Regions from separate parts of the Homo sapiens genome. Here all the other regions are linked to region 2. The links are contacts of gene promoters, found by promoter capture Hi-C in human tissues and cell types (Jung and others, 2019). All regions are on one chromosome and are shown on one strand. Each heading gives the region's core, a stretch centred on a gene start or on the middle of the fragment in contact. The rest is flanking DNA. Distances are from core to core; before and after follow the strand shown.

Region 1 (2,998 bases), core at 196-2,695, 770 kb after region 2:
CGGAGGTTGCAGTGAGCCGAGATCGCGCCATTGTACTCCAGCCTGGATGACAAGAGCAGAACTCCGTCTCACAAAAGAAAAATTAATTAAGAAAACATAAAAATTGACATATATTCCCGGGTGCAGGGGCTCACACCTGTAATCTCAGCAGTTTGGGAGGCCAGGGCAGGAGGATCACTTGGAGTCAGGAGTTCGAGACCAGCCTGGCCCACATGGAGAAACCCTGTCTCTACTATAATACAAAAATTAGCTGGGCGTGGTGGCAGGCGCCTGTAATCCCAGCTACTGGGGAGGCTGAGGCAGAAGCATCGCTTCATCCCGGGAGGTGGAGGCTGCACTGAGCCAAGATCATGCCACTGCACTCCAGCCTGGGTGACAGAGTGAGACTCCATCTCAGAAAAATAAAAATAAAAATAAAAATTGACATATAAAATGTTTTATCATAACTTTAAGTGGAATGTATTTCCAGGCCTATTGTATGCCATCTACTTGCTTCAAATTTATTTTTGTCAAAGCCTTAGAACAGCAAACCCAGCCCAGGCAGTTGTGGAAAACATCCACCATAATTCCTAATTGGCCAGGCTGGATCTTGTGGTTAGACCAGCCAGCCAAATCATACTTTGTGTCGGAAAAACTCTGACTCCTCTTTTTAATTCAAATATTTATTAAACAGGTTAAACAGGTGTCCCTGTGTCAGCTTCCTAATTCTAATCCTAAAATAAACAGATGGGTAGGTAAGATAGATAAGGCCCCCTTCTCAACATCTTAAGGAAGTTCTTTGTCCTGCTGGAACTCCTCCCATGAGGGCTGCATTCTTCCGTTGTCTCTTTGGTGGCTTTTATAACCCAGGGCGGGATACCAGGGTGAGGTTGGGATGACTGGGGGTAGGCCTTTCTTTTGGGAAGTGTTTAGGAGGGCCTTGGTGAGGGGAGAACTGGCAGACCCAGAGGGTTCCCGGCTGATCAGTTTTAGGAAGAAGCACAGGAAGTGGAGCTTTCAGAAGTTGATTCCCTGGAAGCCATCCATGTCTGAATACTTCTGGGAAGTCCCCAGGTTCCCTGAGGGTTTTGCACATGTACTCTGGTGGGAAGACTGTTGAGTAGCAGCCTGGATATCCTACCTAGGATTTTGCTCTGTGGACATTACAGAGCTTGTGGATCTTTGAGACTGAGACTGCTTCTCCCACCAGCTCCCTGGTAACACCTTGAATGCACGCCCCATGTTTCTTCTCAGCTCCTCTCAGTGAGACAGCAGGGGCTCACACTCTAACGATGCCACCTTGTTGAGGGGGTAAACTGAGGTCCAGAACAGGAGAGTGACTACACAGAGCAGTCCATGTACCCCACCAAAAAAGCCAGCTGGCATTCCTAGTGGAGGCATCACAAGGCAAAAAAGCCTTGGGGTGGGTCAGGAGGAGTAGTCTTCAGAGTTCAGCCTCTGCCCCTGCCTCAGTGCACGTCACCTGCATTCTCTCAGCCTCAGTGTCTCTGCCTGTTAAATGAGGCTGATGTGGCAGGTGTTGAGCCTGCTGTTCACAGGCTCTGAAGTTGGGCAGACCTATTTTTGAATCCTAGCTTTGCCACTTACTCGCTGTGTGACCTTGGGTGAGTTATTTACCTCTCTGTGCCTGTCTCCACATCAGTCAATGGGGAGAAGAAAGGCCTCTCTCTCATGGGATGGTTGAGAGGATCAATGAGACAAGTGTTAGTGTCAGGCCCACATGGCATGCTCAGTAAGTATTATTGTTATCCTTGGTTTTTGTTCCCTGTAAGAATTATAGTCAGGAAGAGACTCCGTGGAGTGAAGGCCTGGTTGAGACTCTCCAAGGGCAGGATTGTGTTGGTGCATGGCCTTGCCCCTTCGTCCCAGGATGACCACATGTGCTAAGTGGCACTTAGTATGTGTCACCTGATGAACAATGAGTGCCAGTCAAGAGGCCCTTATGACAGCCTCTGAGCCGCTGCCATCTGCTGGGCCTCTTGTTGTCATCTTCCTCCAACATTCACCCGGGGAGGCATCAAGCCACTGGCCTTGTTGCCCTGGGGGAGATGAGGCTGCCCCCACATTTCCCCATAGCCCAGTGGTTTTGAGAGCACCTGTGTGCCCTGATGGGACCTGTGGCAACCTCAGGGACCTAGTGGGACACCTGTTGCCGCCCATTCTTCTCCACTGTTCAGGTTCCCATGTCCTCCCTATTGGATGGGCCTCAGGCGCTTAGCCTGCTCACCTTTCTCTTCTAAAGTCACCACGTCTCCATTTTCTTGTGGGCCTCTCCTAGGAGATGTTTTATGAACAGAGTCCAGTCCCCACCCCTCCATCCCCTCATCTCTTCTCACAAACTTTCCCCTGGAAGTTACTCCCTTGACCCCCTCCTCCTCCTGCTCAGAGAAGTGAATAATGAAATAAAACAGACAGTGCACTCCAGGTGGGATTTTGCTGCTTGAAGGAATCCCTTAGTCAAGCAAGGAATCCTTTTGTAAAGTAAGTGCTCACTGTGGATTTCCGTCTGGGAGTTTTTGCTTGGACTGGTTCTCGAGAGCGGGGCCCAGGCGAGTTTGTGAGCCTGGGGGTGGGCGAGGCTGCTGGCCTCCTCTCTGTGGCCTGAAAGGGCTCCCAGTGTGGCTTCTAGATCCACTGATTACCTTTCATCCTTCCGCTGTCTTCCTGTCAGGGCTCTGGTCTGCCAGCATCGATCACACTGGCCTGGGAGGTGGTGACGGGTTTGTGTTTCTCCCTGTTTTGTTCCTTTGCTTCCCCGTCGCATCTCCATGGAAACAGGTGCAGCCTTTGTGTTGCCTTTGCTTTGGGCAAATCGATGCCAAGTGGGGACTTCTCTGGACTCTCCACCCCCTCCCCTCTCTGGGATCAAAGTGGGAGGAGGGGGCAGTGCAGGGCCTGACAGGAAGCCTTTTGGGGGCCTGGAGGGCCTGGGGTGGGAGACCCCGCTGCATGGCTCCTGTCCTGGCCTGCCCTCATGCCTCAGGCATCACAAGGCCAT
Region 2 (3,137 bases), core at 34-2,533:
TTCAGTTAATTACGTAAGAGAATATTCTTTCTATGCTTCCTCAAGATTCCGGGGATTCTACTCTCTTTCTCATTCTTAGTGTCTCTAGTCCTACACAAAATCCTGCATTTCTGAAATTTAACCCTTACCCCTTGGATCTTGGAACAGCAAAAATTAGACAACCAATTCTGACTCCAGTATTTCCTAACCCAGTTAGCATGAAAAGTTACCTAAGCTCCCCAAGATATCAGTTCTCTCATCCATATACTGAATATAATAATCTACGTAAGCGGGTTGAGGGTTAAATGAGACAATCCTCAAAGCATTCAGCAGGCATTGCCAGAGGAAAAGCAATTAGTAAATGTTTTCACGACCACAGTTCTCCTAACCATTCAGACAACTTGTAAGTGGAGTCGAGGAGCTCTTTCACGCTGTAAACATGGACGTGGGAGGAAGCAGAATCTAACGGAGACTGGGCTGAAGGCCGAGGCGAGAGAACGAAGACTGAGGCGGCGCTGACGGCGGCCGGTGTGCCTCAGCTTGCCATCAGGAGTCGTTACCTTTGCTAAGCTCGGAGGGTTTCACCTCTAGGAGTTCCTCAGCAGTCTGGAACCCCGCAGACACCAGCTTCACCCGCACCGCTGGAGACAGCGGGAAACTCACCAAATCCCGCTGCATTTCAAAGCGGAACGTCTTCCCGCGCATCGCAGGCTCACCTGCTAACCCCGGAGCAGCCAAACTCCGCACGCCCTCGCTGGGGCGTGCGGCGTGACGTCAGACGTAAAGCGGAAGGGGCCGGCTCTGCGGCCTGGCCGCACGGGGCTCCGGGCCTTGCAGCTTTGCGCAGTCTTGTAAATTTTCACACTTATGCACCATTCCGTTTTGATTCCCCAAAATCCCATTTAGAGATTCCTCATCAAATGTACACCCTGACTGTAAAACGATGGACGGAGACCATAGGACGGAGAGCCAGGCCCAGTGGGTTCTCCACGCCACATTTCCTTGCCTCCACCGTGGCCTGTTAGGTGAAGCCTCAGAGTCATTAATAGGAATGATCTCGAGTGGGAGTAGTGAGCGTAACGGGCACACACTAGCCAGTTACCATTATTTTGGTGTGAAAAGCTCAGGGAACAATCATTAGAATTAATCTGCGTGCTCTTTGTAGAGTTGCAGTCTCTTGGCTCTTCCCGCTGACCGTCCCCCTTTTCTGACCCCCCCCCCCCGCAACGACCACATTGCTTTTCCCGCCCTCGCGAGGGATTGTGGGCCAGCCCCCAACGGCCGCTGGGAGGGATCAGTCCGCATTCCCCGCACCCACCCACGTCTTCCCGGGAGTCGTATCCCGAGCATGGAGGTTACTGAGACCGTTATTTCTTCATGGCCTGCCTAGCTTAAGCAGTAGCTGGAAAAGTAAGCAACTAATGTCCCCATTAGTGTGTCTGGGCTCCTGGGGTCCTGAGAAGGAGGGGCTGGGCTACACAAGAGCTCCTTTTGTGGTACAGACTTGGGAAGGGGTGTTCAAGCAGTGGTAGTGACCGCCTCTAAATTACAGAACTTCGGGGAGGAAGGCAAGCAGTTTAGAAGGTGGTTTATGAGTTCCTTCCTTGCCTAGGTGAGTGTAACTTATTTAGCAGGGGGTAACTTATTCCCTACCTATTGGCGATTTTTTTTTTTTTTTTTTTGAGACAGAGTCTCACTGTGTTGCCCATGATGGAGTGCAGTGGCACGATGTCGGCTCACTGCAACCTTCGCCTCCCGGGTTCAAGTGAGTCTCCTGCCTCAGCCTCTTGAGTACCTGGGATTACAGGCGCACGCCACCATGCCCGGCTAATTTTTGTATTATTATTAGAGAAGGGGTTTCACCATATTGGCCAGGCTGGTCTCGAACTCCTGACCTCGTGATCCGCCTGCCTCGGCCTCCCAAAATGCTGGGAGTACAGGCGTGAGCCACCGCGCCCGGCCCTGTTGGCAATGATTCTTAGTCTTGACTTTTCTTCCCAGCTTAGAAGAACTTTCTAAATATTGCAAATCAGAGCCCTCTACATACTTAGATCTAAAAAAGGAAACAACGTATGTTGAGCACTTTAGCAAATCCCACACATTTCAAATGGCCATAGCCATGCCAAAAGGAAGATAAGGACATGGAAGCTCAGCATATAGTTTAATATCAATTCTGATAAAAGAAAAAAAGCTGGCCGGGCGCAGTGGCTCGTGCCTGTAATCCCAGCACTTTGGGAGGTCGAGGCAGGTGGATCTCTTTGAGCTCATGAGTTTGAGACCAGCCTCGACAACATGGCGAAACACTGTCTGTACCAAAAGTACAAAAAATTAGCCGGGCATGGTGGCATGCACCGGTCGTCCCAGCTACTCAGAAGTCTGTGGTGGGAGGATCCCTTCAGCCTGGGAGTGAGCTATGATCACGCCACTGCACTCCAGCTTGGGTGATAGAGTGAAACCCTGTCTCAAACAAACAAAACACCTCAGCACAGTTTTCTTAAAGCCAAGATTCAAACCTAGCATCCTTTTTACTACCCCGAGCTATTAAGATTTTGAGTCCCTACTGGCGGGGAGAATACGAGAAGCATTTATACCCCATTTGGTAGGTCAAAGAAAGTCTTGTAGGACTGGCCAAAATGTGGTTGGCCACTCAACCCATTGCTTAACTTCTAATATGGTCTATATTTGAGCGCTCAGTGGATGCATAAATACTATCTTCAGGGAGATTTCATGCTTATGCTTATAAAGCACCCAGATTCTTGGGTGAAGAAAAAACATGGTATTACCACATTCAACAATAAGTCTTCAGTTAGTTTGGTCAAACTCAGTGGAATCAGTCGTGTTTAGAATTTCTTTCGTTGACAGTGGAAAGTTCAAAACTACTTTGGCCTGGCACAGTGGCTTAAGCCTGGAATCCAAGCACTTTGGGAGGCCAAAGAGGGCACATCGCTTGATCTCAGGAGTTTGAGACCAGCCTGGGCAACAGGGCAAAACCCCATCTCTACAAAAAATACAAAAATTAGCCAGCATGGTGGTACATGCCTCTAGTCCCAGCTACTTGGGAGGCTGAGGTGGGAGAACCAATTGAGCCCGGGAGGTTGAGGTTGCAGTGAGCTGAGATTGCGTAACTCCACTCCAATCTGGGCGACAGAGCGAGACTC
Region 3 (2,747 bases), core at 137-2,636, 530 kb before region 2:
ATATTTCAAAACCTTTTTCCTTGGCCAATACTTGTTAGTAAAGTGATTATGGTACTACACCAAGTTTTAGACTGTAAACTCCTAGAAATTATCATTTCAAGTGTGTATTAAATTTCAAGCAAATTTTAAACCGGTTTAAGATTCAGCCTTAAAGAACAGTTAAAATTGATTGAAAATAATCCAATTTCACCGCACTTTATACATCATAGTTGAAATGCAATGAAGACACATTATTACACAATAATGAAGAAGCAAAGATTTGGCCTGTTATCTGGGAAATTAGAGGGTGGACTACCTGGGCTCCTTTTAGCAAAACACTTTTCCAAAAGAAACTTATTTTTGTTTTCTTTAAACAATACTGTCCTGTCCTAAACGAAATCATTTTTAGTCTGTTGAAAATCCACGTGTCTTTGCGTGTTTATTTATTTATTTATTTATTTATTTATTTATTGCAGTGTTCAAAAAAAAAAAAAAAAAGATGCAAGGTTTCCAGCCCTGAGGACCAGGACGCTGTAGCTCCTGTCTCAGTTCAGCCCTAGCTCTAATTGTGACCTTGGGAAATGTCCCTGGCTCGGGGGACTCGGTTTCCCTCTCTTCTCAATTATGAGTGCTCGGAACGTGGGGGTGGGACGGGCCCCCAGCACCGCAGACAAGGGGTTACAGCTCGTCCAGCTTCATGCAAATCCCCAGCCCTCCTCGTCGCCTCGGCTCTTCCCATCCACTCAGCCACTAGCTCGCTCGGAGCAGTGTGCTCCCGGTGCCCCCCGCGGGGTACCCTCGGTTCTGCACGGCGCTCCCCCTTTGTGTCTTGCTGCTAGGAAGGGACCTTGCGATCATCCTTCCATCCGCCGAGAAACGCTCCACCTACCCTTCATTCTCGACCGTGTCTTTCCCGTTTCAGAGAACCCCTCACACTGCTGCCCTCGAGAGACCCCCGCCGTGGCTCTGACCGGGAATCCCTCTCCTTCCCTCCCCTCAGGAGACCTTCCCTTCACACAGCCTTCACCTCCGGAAGAGCCCTCAATTCACACAACCCCATTCTTCCTCAAACTCTCAGGGATTGGCACCCGGCTGCCTTTTGCGGAGCCGCAAAGGACCCTCAGCCTCCCCCACCTCCGTCATCGGGTTCTGGGGACCCCTCTCACCTCCGCGGTGAGAGATGTGTTTACTGAGGAATCGCTGCTTCTTTCTCTGGTGCAGCAAGGTCGGGTATTTAAGCAACAAGAATGAGGTCACCAAGTATCCTCCTAGCGTAGAGAGAAGGTAAAAAGCCGCAGTGGACGACATCTCAGTCACCGTGTGGGAAGTCTCCCACCTCCGGGCCCTCTGAACTCCGCTGCGGCAGTAGCAACGACGGCGGCGGCGGCGGCTGCTCGAGGTCGGCTCGCCCCCAGCCGGTGCCACTGGTGCAGCGCACTTGTCGGTGCCGGCCTACTGCGCACGCGCAGCTGGACCCCAGCGCCCCAGCAACAAAGAGGCTCCGACGCGCAGGCGCTCTCCGGCTCCCGTGTAGGAACCTGCAGAGATCCTGGACTGAGCGTTTGTCACCTAGCTCTGTGGACGGACCCTCATGAAGAGAAAGCTTGCAAACCTGCCAGTGTGTTGGCCATCACTCAAGCAGAAAAGACTATTCACGGGCAGCCTTTCCTAATTGGAAAATCCACATCAAAAAGGAAAGATTCCAGGGCGCGTCTTATCCCTTGCTCTAGAAAATGCAAATAATTTGTACCTATGGAGGCGATAAAGCTTGCTAAAACACTAAATAAACTCCTCCGTTTATCTAGCCTAGAGAGAATTTCCCCTATGGTCGCATATACTAGAAAAGGTACTGGTTTATCAGTCAAATATCTGAGAGATCGGCCCCTGTCCTCCCTCATTTCATTGTGAAAGTGCAATCCTCATTCTTTGTACACAATAGGCACTGTAGAAGTATTTGTTGACTTACAAGTCCGTATAAAATAAGGAAACTTTGTTAAGGTTATAAGGTATTACCTAAAAGTCCTAGAAAGACAGATAACTAAGTTCCAGAAGGCCCTACTAGTTTTCCTTTTACCCGACAAATTACAAACTGCTAACACACGAAAAGCCACACACTTCAATGCAAAAGAAATAAATCACCCAGGACTGAGGGAGAAATTTTACGGAGAAGACCATATCTCCCACAGGACTAGAAAAGCAGAGTGAATATTTAAAATCCTGATTCAGCCGGGCGCGGTGGCCCACGCCTGTAATCCCAGCACTTAGGGAGGCCGGGAAGGAAGGGTGGATCGCTTGAGCCCGGGAGTTCGAGACCAGCCTGGGCAACATGGCGAAACCCCATCTCTACAAAAAATAAAACAAAATAAGCCCGGCGTGGTGGCGTGCACCTGTAGTCACGCTACTTGGGAGGCTGAAGTGGGAGTATTGCTTGAGCCTGGAAAATCGAGGCTGCAGTGAGCTATGACTGCACCACTGCACCCCAGCCTGGGCGACAGAGCAAGACCCTATCTCAACTATAAAAAGAAAATTAGAAGAAAATAGGGGGTGGCTGGGCACGGTGGCTCAAGCCTGTAATCCCAGCACTTTGGGAGGCTGAGGCGGGCAGATCATTTGAAGTCAGGAGCCTGGCCAACATGGCGAAATTCCATCTCTACTAAAAATACAAAAATTTGCCAGGGGTGGTGGCGTGTGCCTGTGATCCCAGCTACTCAGGAGGCCGAGGCAGGAGAATCTCTTGGACCCGGGAGGCAGAGGTTGCAATGAGCCGA

What was found. Contacts are between HindIII fragments. The study calls those that stand out against the background at their distance.
Region 1: a contact is called between a fragment that was not itself captured here and the fragment with the promoter of TEX14 in region 2, in 1 of the 25 tissues and cell types used here (IMR-90 fibroblasts).
Region 3: the fragment with the promoter of GDPD1 here is called in contact with the fragment with the promoter of TEX14 in region 2 in 1 of the 25 tissues and cell types used here (stomach).

What each region holds. Positions count from the first base shown.
Region 1 is chr17:57,916,269-57,919,266 of GRCh38, reverse strand. All of the region lies in intron 1 of CUEDC1 (CUE domain containing 1), which reads left to right. CUEDC1-AS1 (CUEDC1 antisense RNA 1) reads right to left here. Exons shown (of 2, transcript XR_001752948.2): 2 at 2,951-2,998. Among named protein-coding and RNA genes, the nearest start is that of CUEDC1-AS1, 5.6 kb to the right of the region's middle. The HindIII fragment of the contact is 7,776 bases long and covers 1-2,998 here.
Region 2 is chr17:58,690,191-58,693,327 of GRCh38, reverse strand. It overlaps TEX14 (testis expressed 14, intercellular bridge forming factor), which reads left to right and starts at 1,283. Exons shown (of 32, transcript NM_031272.5): 1 at 1,283-1,389. It overlaps IGBP1C (IGBP1 family member C), which reads left to right and starts at 1,283. Exons shown (of 2, transcript NM_001395966.1): 1 at 1,283-1,389. RAD51C (RAD51 paralog C) reads right to left here and starts at 726. Exons shown (of 9, transcript NM_058216.3): 1 at 540-726. The coding sequence starts at 684. RefSeq lists enhancers at 369-538, 869-968. The HindIII fragment of the contact is 12,262 bases long and covers 1-3,137 here.
Region 3 is chr17:59,219,150-59,221,896 of GRCh38, reverse strand. GDPD1 (glycerophosphodiester phosphodiesterase domain containing 1) reads right to left here and starts at 1,386. Exons shown (of 10, transcript NM_182569.4): 1 at 1,146-1,386. The coding sequence starts at 1,287. RefSeq lists an enhancer at 810-1,360. The HindIII fragment of the contact is 11,394 bases long and covers 1-2,747 here.